3 separate regions of the Homo sapiens genome follow, and regions 2 and 3 are each linked to region 1. The links are contacts of gene promoters, found by promoter capture Hi-C in blood cells and fetal thymus (Javierre and others, 2016). All regions are on one chromosome and are shown on one strand. The core of a region is centred on a gene start or on the middle of the fragment in contact, and the rest is flanking DNA. Distances in the headings are between cores, read along the strand shown. Region 1 holds the start of LINC02275 (long intergenic non-protein coding RNA 2275). Region 2 holds the start of HPF1 (histone PARylation factor 1). Region 3 has its middle 53 kb from the start of HPF1.

The links. The method cuts DNA at HindIII sites, captures the fragments that hold promoters and counts their contacts. A CHiCAGO score of 5 or more calls a contact.
Region 2: the fragment with the promoter of HPF1 here is called in contact with the fragment with the promoter of LINC02275 in region 1 in 2 of 17 cell types (megakaryocytes and total B cells); the score reaches 6.6 in megakaryocytes.
Region 3: a fragment that was not itself captured here is called in contact with the fragment with the promoter of LINC02275 in region 1 in 2 of 17 cell types (M2 macrophages and megakaryocytes); the score reaches 5.6 in M2 macrophages.

What each region holds. Positions count from the first base shown.
Region 1 is chr4:169,973,852-169,978,936 of GRCh38, forward strand. LINC02275 (long intergenic non-protein coding RNA 2275) reads right to left here and starts at 2,051. Exons shown (of 5, transcript NR_037878.1): 1 at 1,965-2,051. RefSeq lists an enhancer at 2,055-2,798. The HindIII fragment of the contact is 11,870 bases long and covers 1-5,085 here.
Region 2 is chr4:169,754,894-169,759,978 of GRCh38, forward strand. HPF1 (histone PARylation factor 1) reads right to left here and starts at 3,051. Exons shown (of 8, transcript NM_017867.3): 1 at 2,937-3,051. The coding sequence starts at 2,984. It overlaps LOC107986240 (a long non-coding RNA gene), which reads left to right and starts at 3,170. Exons shown (of 3, transcript XR_001741529.2): 1 at 3,170-3,331. RefSeq lists an enhancer at 2,899-2,968. The HindIII fragment of the contact is 1,294 bases long and covers 2,838-4,131 here.
Region 3 is chr4:169,808,013-169,813,097 of GRCh38, forward strand. No RefSeq gene overlaps it. Among named protein-coding and RNA genes, the nearest start is that of HPF1, 53 kb to the left of the region's middle. The HindIII fragment of the contact is 726 bases long and covers 2,130-2,855 here.

The DNA of each region.
Region 1 (5,085 bases), core at 801-3,300:
GAGTCTTGCTCTTTCGCCCAGGCTGGAGTGCAATGGCGTGATCTTGGCTCACTGCAACCTCTGCCTCCTGGGTTCAAGTGATTCTCCTGCCTCCGCCTCCTGAGTAGCTGGGATTACAGGTGCGTGCCACCACGACCAGCTAATTCTTGTATTTTTAGTAGAAACGGGGTTTCACCATGCTGGTCAGGCTGGTCTCGAACTCCTGACCTTGTGATCCACCCACTTCGTTCTCCCAAAGTGCTGGGATTACAGGCATGAGCCACTGTACCTGGCTGGCTCCTCCCTCTCTCTTGTGCCGGAAACCATCTGTTGCAGGGTCCCTGATGATGCCATCTTAGAAATGTCTCTTACAATCCTTCCTTGTGAACCACCCTCACTGCCACTAACCTAGGTCAGACCTCATCAGCAGCCTCCTGAAGTGCCCTCTTGCCTCCACTTTTTCTCCATTCATCGTTCTAAAGCTGGGGTTTGCCAGGCCCACTCACTTCTTAGTGAGTCCACACTGTCCGAGTGGTAGGGCCAGAGCTTGCACATGGTCATTCAAGGTCCCTGAGTCAGCTGCAGCTGATGATGCCCACCTTCTTCCTCATGCCACCTGCATCATATTCCAGAGTCCAGTCAAGTGCAGCCTTGCCCTTATGACCATGCCCTCTTATTTGACATTGAGTCTCTTTCTTGGAAAGTCTTTCTTCCTTACATTTATCTGTTCAAATCTTATCTACCATTCACAGATTATCTGAAATTATCTTTTTCTTCACAAGGTTCTCCTGATTCCTCCAAGTCAGAAGTATGCTATGCCCTCCCTTGAATTTCACTAAGATTTTATCTCTTTATCAATGAAGGCATTTATTACTGGTATTTACTACTTTCTTCTATTTATAATAGTTATTCACTGCATATCTGATGCAGTCTCCAAAAAGGTGAAGTTCTTCAGGACAGGAACCATTTTTGTTCACTTTTGTGTTATCTTTGGAGCATGTTATTTCCTTGACCATTGCAACCCCAATAAAGAAAATTGAATTACTGCAAAGTGACTGGCTTTCTGCTTCTTCTGGGTGTCCAAACCTTATCAGCTGATTAATTAAAATGTAATAAAGAAAAAAGGAAAATTATTTGATTCAGCTGATCAGTCATGAGGAAGACTTCTTTAAGGAGTGATGAATTTAGAGTTATGTCAGATACAAAATAGGATATCTTAGTTTTCTGTTTCAGAGATAGTCTTAATCAGAAAGACACTTTTAATAACATAAGTGCTTCAGGATTATTCACCAAATTTATAAGCATTTTTTGGTTTTCATCTGAAGATTATTACTTGAACTTTACAAAAGAATGATTGCTTTGCTTCGTTGAGAAGCATCACTTTCTGATGAGTCAGGATGTACCAATATCAAGATGAGGGATATTTTTATAAAAACAAACATCTATTTTTTTCCTGGCCAACTTTTCTACTCATCAGAATTAGTGCACTGCTCTTCACTTGTAGGAATCCTGATGAGACACGCAATTACCTAGTTACCAATTAACATAAAGAAGATCTTGTGGAACTTCGGGAATCCCTAATCAGCTGGTCTGCAGAAAAACAACACAGCCCACAGGCGCGCATGGGGGAATTATGAGAAATATTTGGAATCACTGTCCACATTTTCTTATCCTTACACATTTTTCCAGCTATTTGTCTTAAATTTAATACACAGTATGAAGTAGAAATAGACCCAGGGTTATTAGATCAGAGAAACTGATCAGGGTAAATATGTCCTATTCATTTCTACAGACTGATTGCTTACCGGGTAAGAAGAGAATGTAACTCCATACCACAATAGGATTTGTTCCCATTCAGTTTAAGAACAGATTACAAAGTAAGCACTTTCATAATTGGTGAAATTAAATTCCTGAGTATTTAGTAAGAACAAGGAAGATTTTATTTGCACAATATTCTCATAAAAGTAAAAAACAACTGAGCCTACCTTCCATCCATATCTGGATCTAACATTTCCTTCAACAGGTGGTGATAAAGAGGCCACGAGGCACTCAGAGAAGCACAGCAAGTAAGTAGAAAGAAGTGATTTACACAGAGAGTTCAAAAGGATTTCTACCATTTAGTTAAATAATACCTAGAGTCCAGACTCTTGTGACCCTGCAAATGCTGGGAAAGAGGATTTACAGCGAGGTTGGGCGGGGCTGATGTTACATAAGAAAGCAGCCACTGAGCCACGCACACTGCCAGATGCCAGGTCAGCCAGGAGCTCAGGGATCCAAGGCCCCTCTCAGACTCCTGGTGCAGCGATTATAGAGTTCAGCCATTTAGGAGAGTGTGACAGAGTGGCGGCAGATGGCCCCTAGCAGAAATAAGTTTTGAATCTGGCTCTGAATCCCACCCTCACTACTGCCTCTAGAATGTCATTAAACTTAAGCAGAGGAGAGGAATGTCAGAACCAAGACAAAGAACTGTCTTTGGTTGAGAGGGTGTTTCTGTCCACTTGCTGTGCCATGCAGGACGTGAGACGGGATAGGGAGATTTCATGTGTGTCATAGGCTGATGTGGTTCTGCCATTGTAAGATCAGCCCTCTTGACATAGTGACTGTTTCCGAGAATAATCATAATGAATCACAAACCTGTTAGCACTTTTTTCTCCTCCTTACCTGCCTCTGGCTGCCAGCGAAGTGCTGGGTTGAAAGTGTGTGAAGTGTGTGCACGTGCACACATGAACACGTGCAGGTGTGGTGGGAAGGGGGCACATGGGTGTGTAAGCAGTCTGTCACATAGGGAAGCAGTTCAGGGCCCAATAGCTTGAGGCCTCTGAGATGAGTTTACTTGTCCTGAAGAACAAGGGTGAACAAAGGCAGTGTTCTCATGGTGGTGACAGCAGCGGGGTGCAGGTCAGTGGAGGCTCAGAAAGGGGAAAGTTAAAATGAGCTATGAGGTCCAGCAATCCGGACAATAAGAAGGAGTCAGGTGAGTGGAGATAAATTAGGCCTGATCACCTTGAAGTTTGGAAAGAGAGGTGGAATTAAGGAGATACACTGGCTTATCCTTCAAAGCCCCCTATAAAACATGTGGAAACATTAACTCACAGCATTGAAAACGGATGTTTGGACATTTTTTATGTGTGTTAGGGGGTGCATATGGTGACCAAGAATGTCTGGAGGTGACCAGAGATAACTGTGGCAGAAATATGAGAACCAGTAAAAGCCAATATTTCCTGGAGGATATCAGCAATTGCCTGTGTAAATTTAAGCACTGGCCTATCTGTGAGTATCTGGCTAACTTTAAGACAGAAGGAAAACAAAGGAATTCATTACCCCCTGGAGGCTGAGGACAAAGCCAGGGATCTGGTCCAGCCTTTCCCCATAAGAAGACCAAGACAGGGAGGCATATGAAGACCAGGAATATAGTTCTCCAGTTCCATCCATGTTATGTTAAGTGAAATAATCCAGGAACAGAACGGTAAACAGTGCATGTTCTCACTCACATGTGGAAGCTAAAAGAGCTGATCTCATAGAAGTAATAAGTGCTACAGAGGAGACTAGAGGCTGGGAAGAGGAAGAGAGGGAAGACGAAGGAGGTAAGGGAGAGATAGGGATATATTTGATAAAAGGATACTAAATTACAGCTAAATAGGAGGAATAAGTTCCAGTGTTCTATACCATTATAGGATGACTAAAGTTAACAATTATTTTTACATATTTTCAAATAGCTGGAAGGGGGATATTGAATGTTCCCAACACAAAGAAATGATAAATGGCCAGGCGCAGTGGCTCACGCCTGTAATCCCAGCACTTTGGGAGGCTGAGATGGGTGGATCACCTCAGGTCAGGAGTTTGAAACCAGCCTGGCCAACATGGTGAAACCCTGTCTCTATTAAAAATACAAAAATTAGTGGGGTGCGGTGGTGGGTGCCTGTAATCCCAGCTACTCAGAAGGCTGAGGCAGGAGAATCGCTTGAACCTGGAGGGCGGAGGTTGCAGTGATCCGAGATCGCACCACTGCACTCCAGCCTGGGCAAAAGAGTGAGACTCCATCTCCAAAAAACAAACAAAAAAAAAGATAAATGTTTGAGACAATGGATATGCTAGTTACCTTGATCTGATCACAGCACATTATATGTATTAAAACATCACTATGGTACCCCCATGAATATGTGCAATTATTATCTGAGAATTAAAAAAGACAAGGAGAAACTGGACTTCTCTGAGGAAGTAGGAGGTAATGGTAATTTCTTGGAAAAATGAAGCGGCAGCAAGCTACAGAAGTCCTTCTTTCCATGAGCGGTGTGAACGGTGCTCCTGAACATCCACAGGCACTGGCTGGGTAAAACGAAATGTGATCGATCTCAAAATGCACAGGCTCGAGATTTTGGAGTCAATACATGTTTAAATTGGCATATCATGCTAGTTATGTCTATATCTACTCCTGTCTCAGTCTTCAAATAATTCCCTCGCTTAACGAGCTGTATTTTCCTCTTCTTGCAGCAATGAGATTCACCAGTGCTGCCCTGTTTGCGGCCTGAAAGCAAATCAGGGAAGACAGACACCTTCTCATTTAGGAAAGGAAAATTTAAACTCATCAGCTGCTTATGGGTTACTTTTCTATTTTTTCTTTTCTTTTTTTCTTTTTTCTTTTCTTTTTTTTTTTTTTTGAGATAAAGTCTCGCTCTGTTGTCCAGGCTGGGGTGCGATGGCGGGATCTCAGCTCACTGCAACCTCCGCCTCCCGGGTTCAAGTAATTCTTCCGCCTCAGGCTCCTGAGTAGCTGGGATTACAGGTGCCCAAAAACACGCCTGGCTAATTTTCGTCTTTTTAGTAGAGACAGGGTTTCACCATGTTGGCCAGGCTGGTCTCGAGCTCCTGACCTCGGGTGATCTGCCCGTCTCAGCTTTCCAAAGTGCTGGGATTACAGGCATGAACCACCGCACCCGGCCGGTTACTTTTCTATTGAAGGCAGTCTAGCTTGATGAGGATTGCAGAGAAGGCAGAACAGGCTCTAGAAACTGGATTCTCCAATTCTGTTTTCCACTAGAATTTTGCTTTGTTTCTTTTGAGGAAAAAGAAACCTAGAACACAGGAGGGCACCCTGGACAGTGAATG
Region 2 (5,085 bases), core at 1,801-4,300, 220 kb before region 1:
ATGTTTCTCATATTTATATATTTTTTTATTTTATTATTATTATACTTTAAGTTTTAGGGTACATGTGCACAATGTGCAGGTTTGTTACATATGTATACATGTGCCATGTTGGTGTACTGCACCCATTAACTCGTCATTATTAGGTATATCTCCTAATGCTATCCCTCCCCCCGCCCCCTCATATTTATATTCTTCTATTTTCTCAGTAGTCTGAAGTTTATTAACGTTAGGTATCATTCAACGTCTACAAAATGTAATCAGATGATACAAGAATGGTCATGGTGGCATTAATTCCAAGAGCAAAAACAGAACAAATGAAATACCTATTGTTAGGAGAACAGTTGTAAGGTTTTCAAACAATAGACTATTACACTTAATATTACAGTTGACCCTTGAGCAACAAGGGTTTGAATTTTGTGGACCCACTTATACATGAATTTTTTTTCCAACCAAATGCAAATAAAAAAATACAGTATTCTTGGGATGTGAAATCCACTTATAGAGAGGGCCAACTTTTCGTATACTCGGGTTCCACAGGACCAACTTTGGAACTTGGGTATGCTCAGATTTGGGGATATATGGAAATTTGTTACTGTATACTAGACTATTAACTGTGTTATCTTTGGCTAATGAGATGGTTTGTTTTCTTGTTGCTTTAAAAATTAGTGTATGCTCTCCTAAGGTCCTGGAACCAATCTCCGTCATTTACCGAATGGTTACTCTATGGCTACACAATATGGACCAACCTATATTCAATATTTTTAATGAGGAAAAAAGCTCTTGATTATATGCAGCATGATAGCCTTTTTATGAAGTTCAAAAACTAAGAATAAATATTGTTTAGGTATACACTCATGGGAGATAAGCCTATTTTTAAAAGGCAAGGGAAAACAAAATTCAGGATAGCTACACTGAAAATAATTGACAGGAAGAAGGCTGAACGGATAGGAGAGGAACACGTGTAGATGTAGAGCTATTGTCTGTTTCAGCTTTGGGATTGGGCAATGGGTTCACTGGTGTTTGTTACATTACTTAACATAAATAAGGTCAAAGACGATCATGAATATGGTAACAGTTTATTATGCCAAGGATTATAATGTGTCTGATTTATAAAAAAAATTACGTTCAACAAAAAGCCTGTTGAACAATGAATCCAAAAGTGAGTATCAATAATAGCAAATAGTAATAGTAAAGATAATATAATAGTAAAAACAAGTAGTTAAGTGATACTTACTGAGAACTTATTTTGTGCTGTTTCACTGTTCTAAGCACCTTCTGTGGATTAACTCATTTAGTCCTCAACTGTCTCATGCACTAGATACCATTAACCTCATCGTACAGCTGAGGAAACTGAGGTTAACCTCCCTACGTCCCTAACTAGGAAGTGGAAGAGAAGGGATTTAAACTCAGGTTTAAATCTGGGTCCACAGCAGATCCTCAACCACTTCACTATGCTGCTTCTCCAACATCAAATATAGAACAGTAGGAACATATGAAGTCCTGAGCTATCCTATCTTCTGTTTTCATAACTGTCTTTGTTCAGACGTTCAAAGACTGGCTCCAACTTAAGATGTTAGAAAAGGCTTAATCTGCCTTGCTGAAAGGCAGTTTTGCATAATAGTTAGGTTGCCTGGGTTGACTCCTGACTCTACTGATTTCCAACCTTAGGCAAGTTACTTAACCTCTCTGTGCTTTGTTTTCTCATCTGCAAAAAGGGCATACAGTGCCTATATCGGGGTTGTTACAAGGAATGTTATTATATGTAAAAATACACAGAACGGTCCTAGCACATAATATACAAATGCTGGCCATTACGGTTATAGTCTCTACAGACTCATCTTCATTTCTGTTATTGTATTTCTAGTTAAGCACATCACTCCACCAAAGCAGTTCTTCACTGCACCTTCAAAAAGAGAATTTTTTCAGCTGTGCCTTTACTCACACACTAGTTCAGCATCTCCATAGCCCTAACAACTAGGATTTAGAACAGCTGTCCCCTTCAGAGGCTACACTTCTTCTTTACCCTGGTCTTCCTAGAATGCATGACCCAATATGAAGGATGCCTATACCGATGGCCCTTTAACAGTTAGTTAAGCCCTCTAAGAATGTCTCACCCTGTCCGATTTATGACACTACCAGAGTAACTTTTCTAAAACTTTAGTTATCACAATGGCACTTCTTTCCTGATTCCCCTTATTGCTACTGTAGTGGTTACAGAACTTCCGAAATCGTAGTAAAGTATGAGAATGCACACACTCTCTCCTCCTCCCCTCTCAGTAGTGCTTTTATGATCAGGTCCCTCTTATTTTCCCATTTCCCTGGCTCCAGCCAAGCCGAACGCTCCGCTACGCCCAAACATCTCCTACAGTTTTATGTCTCAGAATCTTACTTCTCTGCCTTCAAAACCAATTTTCAAAGAGTTGTCTTAAAAGTCTTCTTTAACACCCCCTGGGACTTGTTAAATCCTCCTTCAGTGTTTCCATAGCACTTTCTACACACCAGCGTTATAATCCCAAACAAAAAAGTCACAGTAGAATGCATATTTGCTTGTGCCCCTCCTCCCCAGGCCGAGGGCTCAACAAGCAGCAGGAGCAAGCAGGTTGACCCCCAAATCCGCAGCGCCCCACAGAATGTCAGGTATGTAATCGGTTCCCAATCAATCTGGCTGGGCGAATGAACCATTGGTTGGCTTAATCCGTTTCCCCAGGAAATGCTCCAAGAGGAGCTGGGCAGAAGATGCAGAGGAGCTACTTTCCTGGTCCAACCCCCTGCAGAGCGCGAAACAGCGGCCCTGGGCAGGATCCCCGCAGCAAACCGCAGCCCCTGGACACACAGCAAGCTTAATAGTCACTGGATGAATGAAAAGCGCTGCCTCCTGGTGCCCTGGCTGTCACCCAAAGCGCCCCGCGTAGCCCGCACAGCCTTTCCGGCAGTACCTGCGGCCCCTCTCCGCCGGGCCTGCGCTTCCCGCCACCGCCGACCATTCTGCAGCTGCAGCGCCAGCAGAATTCCCCGATCCGCGGCCGCTTCCGAGCGCCGCCAACCGCTTCCGGGTTCAAAAGCCTCCAAGCCGAATTTCAGCGCCGCCCGGGCTCGCCAATTTAGGGGAAAGGCTCCGCCCATTCCCCGCCCCCTGAGACCTGGCACCGGACGCGTTGAGGCCCCGCCCACTCCCGTGCTGGGCGCGTGCAAGGAGCGTCTTCTGTCAGCGTAGTCTGCATCTAGGCTTTCTGGAGCATCTTCCAGGGTCGCTCCAGAGACCCCCCAGACTACTGAATCTGAATCCTTAGAGTGGTCCAACCTTCCTCTTCAGGTGTCTACTAGAGGCAAGGTTGGATGTATGCGGCTGTTCTCAATACAGCCCCTTCCTTGTTTTTTCTTCATTTATATTTACTTAAAATATTAATCCTTTTCTCCTTCTCCTCCATCCCTCTCCCTACCCTACTGTACGGTTATTGGCTTACACTAATTCATTCCCGATTGTCTCCAAGAAGGAAATAAATGTCTGTCGGTCTCTGTCTCTGTACCGTCGTCTTCTTGGTACAATTTGGACTGTTTTTCCTCTACACCGCTGATATGCAAAGTGTAGTCCCTGAACCAGCGGCCTCAGCATCCTGAGGGAATTTGTTAAAACGCCAAATCTCAGGCCTTACCCAGACTTACTGAATCAATATCTGCATCGCAACAAGATCCCCTGGTAATTCCTATGCACATAAAATTTGGAAGGCACAACTCTCAACTGATGTCCTTGGACCTCCTTCACATCCATCCTGGGAAGGTCTTATTCCTCATTCCTGAGATGAGTTCTCTATTTCCTCAATCTGGGTGTTCCTTTTTCTTGATTATATACCCTCATGTTGTGGAACATATCCGCCAATAGTTCCTTGAGAGAGGTTGCTGCCAGGTCTTTTTTCCCACAGAGTGTGCATGTCTGGAAATGTTTTTATTCTGGCTGAGCACAGTTCTAGGTTGAAAATAACTTTCACTCGGAATATTGGAGGGCTTGCTCCGCAATATTTTAGCTTCCAGAATTGTTAAGAAACTATGTCGTTATATTTCCTTCTCCTTCACAGGTCACTAAATTTCTTGATATGTAACCTGCTTTCCTTTCTGTTTTGTTTTGTCTCAAGAAGCTTTAGGATCTTTTCTCTGTTTCCAGTGTTTTTTGTTTTGTTTTGTTTTGTTTTGTTTTTTTTGAGACGGAGTCTCGCTCTGTTGCCCAGGCTGGAGTGCAGTGGTGCCACCTCAGCTCACTGCAAGCTCCACCTCCCGGGTTCACACCGTTCTCCTACCTCAGCCTCCGGAGTAGCTGGGACTACAGGCGCCCGCCACCACGCCCAGCTAATTTTTTTTTTTTTTGTATTTTTAGTAGAGACGGGGTTTCACCGTGTTAGCCAGGATGGTCTCGATCTCCTGACCTCGTGATCCGCCCTCCTCGGCCTCCCAAAGTGCTGGGATGACGGGTGTGAGCCACCGCGTCCGGCCTATTCCCAGTGTTCTAAAACACTATTGAGTGTCTTGGTTATGGGTCTTTTCTCATTCCTATCGACCAGTTTTTCAATCCTGAAACACATGTTCTTCAGTTATGGGAATTCTTCTGGTATTATTTATTTGATCATTTCTTCCCCCCCACCCCCCATCGTATCTCTTCTTTTTTGAAATTTGTTATTTAGATCGTGGACCTTCTTGGCTGATGTTTTTTCTTACCTGTCTGTCCTATTTTCTATGTCTTCATATTTTTATTCTACTTTCTCTGTGACTTTCTCAACTTAATTGGACAATTACTTAATTTCTTTATTATACTTAATAAAGATTAATTACTTAATTTCTGTATTATACCTTTATTTCTCAGTGCTCTTTTTATTCTCTGTTCTTTTATAGCATTACATTATTTTTCATGAATATAGCTCCTTTTATCTCTGAAGATGTCAATTATAGCGTTTTTAAAAATGCTTTCTACGTAACTCTGCATTGACTTTGATTCTTTTGAGTCTTTTTTGGTTGTTTGTTTGTTTACATTTGGTTCCTGTTGTTTCTGCTAGAGGCATTCTTCATCTTGTGTGGTGATCCTTGCTGTCAATTTAT
Region 3 (5,085 bases), core at 1,243-3,742, 170 kb before region 1:
CCCTAAAGAAGAGAATTTTTTCCCCTTTATGGGATTGAGATGGTAAAGATTTCTGATTCAGGCTGGGAGCTGTCAGAACAAATAAAGCAATTCTGTTTAAACACTTTCCTTTCGTCTATCTTTGAAATGAATTACCAAATTAAGCCACCTAAGTGCACTCTTAACTCTTGGTTCTCTTCCTCATATTTTGTTTCCTGTTTCATATGGAAATTATGTTTTCTTCTCTGCTTAGTGTCAGATGCTTCTATGGGAAATTCTCCAATAATGTCCTCAGATGATCTCCCACATTCAAATGTGGTTTTTCTCGGCTGGAAGGCGTGGGCTCCTTATTCAATCTCATTCTAACTCTCAGACAATTTTAGAGGCTGGTGTTTCTTTTCCTAACCAGAACATGCTTTCTGCTTTGGGGCCACAAAAATCTATTTTTATTTCATACCAGTGACTGAAAACTTTGTGATACAATGGGCATGAAATAAGCAGGAAATTCAAAATAATATTTTTTATGGTTTTGTGTGGCATAGGTTTTTTCCACATATATTCACACTAAGCATCTCTATGGAAAAAAATATATGAATTCTGATTTTTTACTTCCCTTAATCTGTTGGCCAGAATGCTCAGGTTATGTTACTTTGAATAGAATGTTTAGAAATGGACATTCCCTTTCTCTCCTGCTCAGAGTTTAAGCAGTTCCTTGAACAACCAAGGTACTAACCATAAATTTCTTCATTGGTTGGTTGTCTCTTACTACTCAAACCTTAGGCCCTGATTTTTTCATGTTTGTTCTCCTTGCTGTGATTTTGGAAGGCAGACTGGTACAAAAGAGACCCCTGACTGGGTACCTGGCAGCTTCTCAGAAGGGAGGCAGTGGAAACTACAGGATGCATTCCTCTATGATTTTTTTTTTTTTTTTTTGAGACAAGGTCTCACTCTGTCACCCAGGCCGTAGTGCAGCAGTGCACTTGCTGCTAACTGGCAGCATCAGCCTCCTGGGCTCAAGCGATCCTCCCGCCTCAGCCTCCTGAGTAGCTGGGATTACAGGTGTGCACCACCATGCCCGACTCATCTTCTGTGTTTTTTGTAGAGATGGGGTTTTGCCATGTTTCCCAGGCTGGTCTTGAACTCCTGAGCTCAAGTGATCTGCCTGCCTTGCCTCCCAAAGTGCTTGGATTACAGATGTGAGCCACCACTCCTGGTCTTGCCTGGCTTCTTAATTAAACATCAGTTGTGAGATTGATCCATATTCTTTTGTCTGTCGTCAAAGATAGTTCATGGTCTTTGCTGTGTTGGAATTCATCTTTAAACCTCCTTTTCCCTCACCCCTTCTTTTATCTCATGACCAAATCCTGTCAATGTCATCTTCAAATCTATCTAAAGTCTCACTCCTTCCACTGGCAGTACTTCCTGCTTGAAGGCTGCTTTGTCTTTTGATCCATGTCCTCACTTCCATTCCTGTTTCCCTCTCCTCCTGTCTACACATGCAGCTGGCGGGACAGTTACAAAAAAGCAGAGTATACCAGGTTATTCACATACTTGAAACATGTCATGAGTTCCCAGTGCATTTAGGATAGTTCCCTCGGCCTGCACGTGGTCTGTGAAGCCCTGTGTGAACTGGCTTGTGCCTGACACCGTCCCCCGCCCTCTCTGGGCACCTCTGCAGCTCCATTTTGTTCTTCCAGTTCCTCCCAAGAGTCAAGCTTTTCCCTGTCCTCAACGTTGGTATATGTGATTTTTTTTCTACTTAGTTTCCCACTCTCCCTTGACCTGGCAAATTCCTGCTCTGTCATTTCTCAGAGAGACCACCTCCAATGTTCTTGTCTACATTAAATCTTCCTGTTATTTTCACTGGCAGTGATTGCCACACCTAACACCAACATTTATTGCATTTACCAACACAACTGTTAGAGTAACTGTCTAATGCTTGTCTTCCCGCTAGACTGTGGACACTGTGGGGCCGGGTCTTTTTGTTTGCTGTTGTATCTGCAGCATCTAGCACAGTGTCATGTATGTAATGGCTGCTCAGAAAATGAGCAAATTAAAGCAGAGTCTCAGGAACTATGACAAAGTTTACCTGAACATGTAAATGAGATGTCAATGAAGGGGACTTTTCATTTACACCTTTTCGGATCTGAAGCTTTTCAGCTGAAAATAGGTAGATTGGGTATCAGGATTTCTGAGCATCTTGCAGCTCAACCAATCAAGGCAGGCAAACATTCACTTAATAAGCTGCTCTGACCAAAGCTCATTCTTTCATTTTAAGAAATACCGTCCCTGAATTACAAGCAGCATAAACACCATCCCAGAGTGACACTTTGAATGAAACATTAGAGCTGACTGTGTCCATATTAACCCCATAGGCAACAACATTCATCCCTGTCCTCTGTTACTGTTCTTCTCCTCCACTACTGTAGCAAATACACAATATATAATGTAGTAAATAAATGTGCAGCGAATAAAACGACAGATAAGAAGCTGACCTAACTCTGGATTGCCAATGGCTTTTTAGACCACAAGAGGGAGCTGTTTAAACTCTTGTTAACAAGGAAACAATTGAGGGAGAAGAAATTTGGCAATCCTGAGGTTGGCCAGATGGGCACCTATTTATATGATATTGACTCTGGAATTACATTTATTTTTAAGTTACAAAAGTTTTAATTCTTTTTATCTGCAATGTAATTAGCATTTTAAATAGTGATATTAAAGGCAATGAGTTGTTTTTGTCTTAAAATCTAATTTTGTCTCATTTAACTAGTTTGGAAAAGTGTAAATATTTAATTAAGGGACAAGGAGATGAAGACTACTTTCATACTAAATCTATTTCCTAAATACTTACTAATAAACCGCCTCATGAACAAATAAGCTTTTCTTTAAAAAATACTGTTTCTTTCAATAGTCTATATGGTCTTAAATATTTAAATATGTGTGCAAATCAGATTTTTTAAAAAGATATACACAAACTATGACTTGAGAACTCCTTTCTTAAGAACACTGCAGTCTAATTATAGACATATTTACATACCATGAACCCAGTTATATGACAGCTACCCTTGCCAACCCTCCTGGTCACCCTGAGAATGAATGCAGTTAAATTATCTAAAGGGACCTGACCCAAGGGCAGAGTGTGTTTTTCTACAAAGGGGCCAGTGAGAGGGCACATCGGTGGGAGTCAAATGACCAATCGTAATAACAGTAGTGACATTCATGGAGTGTTTATACAGGCCAGGCACTGTGCTTAAAGCACCGTACATGGACTAGATCATTAATTCCTTCCAAAGCTGCAAGGTAGCTTCTATTACTGTTTTTATTTTAGAGATGAAAAAACAGAAGGGTTAAATAACTTATAGAAGATCACAGAGCTATTAAGTGGGGAGCCAGGATTTGAATCCCCCTGCAGAGGAAGGCTCACTAAATGTGATTCTCCTCAACTGGCAAGTCTGACTGTGGGTTAAAGCATCAGGCCTCTGGGTGAAATGCTTCTTTTCCTGCAATGGACCAAATCTGTACATTGTTATCTTCATTTTGAACAGTGGGATTCTGCCAAGATTCTCTTCTTCCCATAAAATGTTTTGTCCTAAGAAGGGAGAGAAAGCTTTTGTCGTTGTACACTGGGCTCCATATCCAGGATGATTGTCAGTGAATAGGAAATGTGTTAAAGATGATGGTTTCCTGCTGATTCACTTCTGTGACGTCAAGACTTATGGGAATACAGACAAACTTATCTGAATGACAGACATCACTTAATGTAAAAAGGGAAGCCAGCAAAATGTTCTAAGACAGAGGACTTCTAAAAAATTCCAACAGTTTACCATAGTGGTCCTAGAACCTAAGTGTGTTTTGAGTAAATATTCAAACATGTCCTATGAGCAGAAACATAAATGTCATCTTCCTGGCTCATGGTGGGACTGTGGCCCATTTGTTATAGGGGAATTAGGGGGTTAAGAATCCCCTTGCTAATGATTATCTATTGCCATTCTGCATTTTCTCCTTACCCTACCCTCAGTCCTATTCCTAACTGGGATCTTTAAGTACTTAGAAAACCCTGCTGGCCCAGCGCAGTGGCTCATGCTTATAATCCCAGCACTTTGGGAGGCTAAGGTGGAACCAATTGCTTGAGCCCAGGAGTTCAAGATCAGCCTGGGCAACACGGCAGCATCCTGTCTCTACAAATAATTGTTTTTAAAAATAGCCAGGCTTGGTGGCACGCACCTGCAGTCCCAGCTACTTGGGAGGCTGATGTGGGATTATCACTTGAGCCCAAGAGTTCAAGGCTACAGTAAGCTATGATCACACCACTGCACTCCAGTCCAGTCTGGGCAACAGAGTGAAACCCTGTCTCCAAAAAAAAAAAGGAAAGGAAAAGAAAAGAAAAAACATTGTTACATTGCTAATATTTATTATTGTAGTATTTATGAACAAACAACATTTCTGAATATAAAAATAAATGAGCCAATTCTCATCCTTTAACCCTTTGTAATGTGTCCTCAGGTCTGCACTCAAATTTGCCTTGTAAGTCAGGTACAGAATTTGAGAGTTTTTAAGAAGCACTAGAAGTCATAGTGCCTTAGTATTCCTACATTTTATCTTGCTAGCCCTTTTAATTTCAGTGGTTGACCAAGTACAGCACCAGGGCCAGAATGTGACATGAATTTGACTTTAGAAATGTGTATTAAAATATGGCAGCAGGAGTGAGAAGGCTCTCTGGAAGTAGGCATAGGCATGAATCTCAGGCATTCCTTCCCTACAGGGTTGCCAGTTTACATACAGGCTGTCTGGAATGGTGGCCCGTGCCTGTAGCTACTGGGGAGGCTGAGGTGGGAGAATTCACTTGAACCCGGGAGGCAGAGGTTGCAGTGAGAGGAGATCGCACCACTGCACTCCAGCCTGGGTGATGGAGTGAGACCCTGTCTCAAAAAAAAAAAAAAAAAAGAAAGTAAAAACAAATATAGGCTGTCCAACAAACTTGAATTTTGGATAAACAGACAATTTTGTCAGCCTAAGTGTTTTCCAAATGTTACAGTGGAGATACTTGTATTTAAAATTATCCATTGTTTATCTGAAATGCAAATTTAACTGGATGTCTTGTATTTG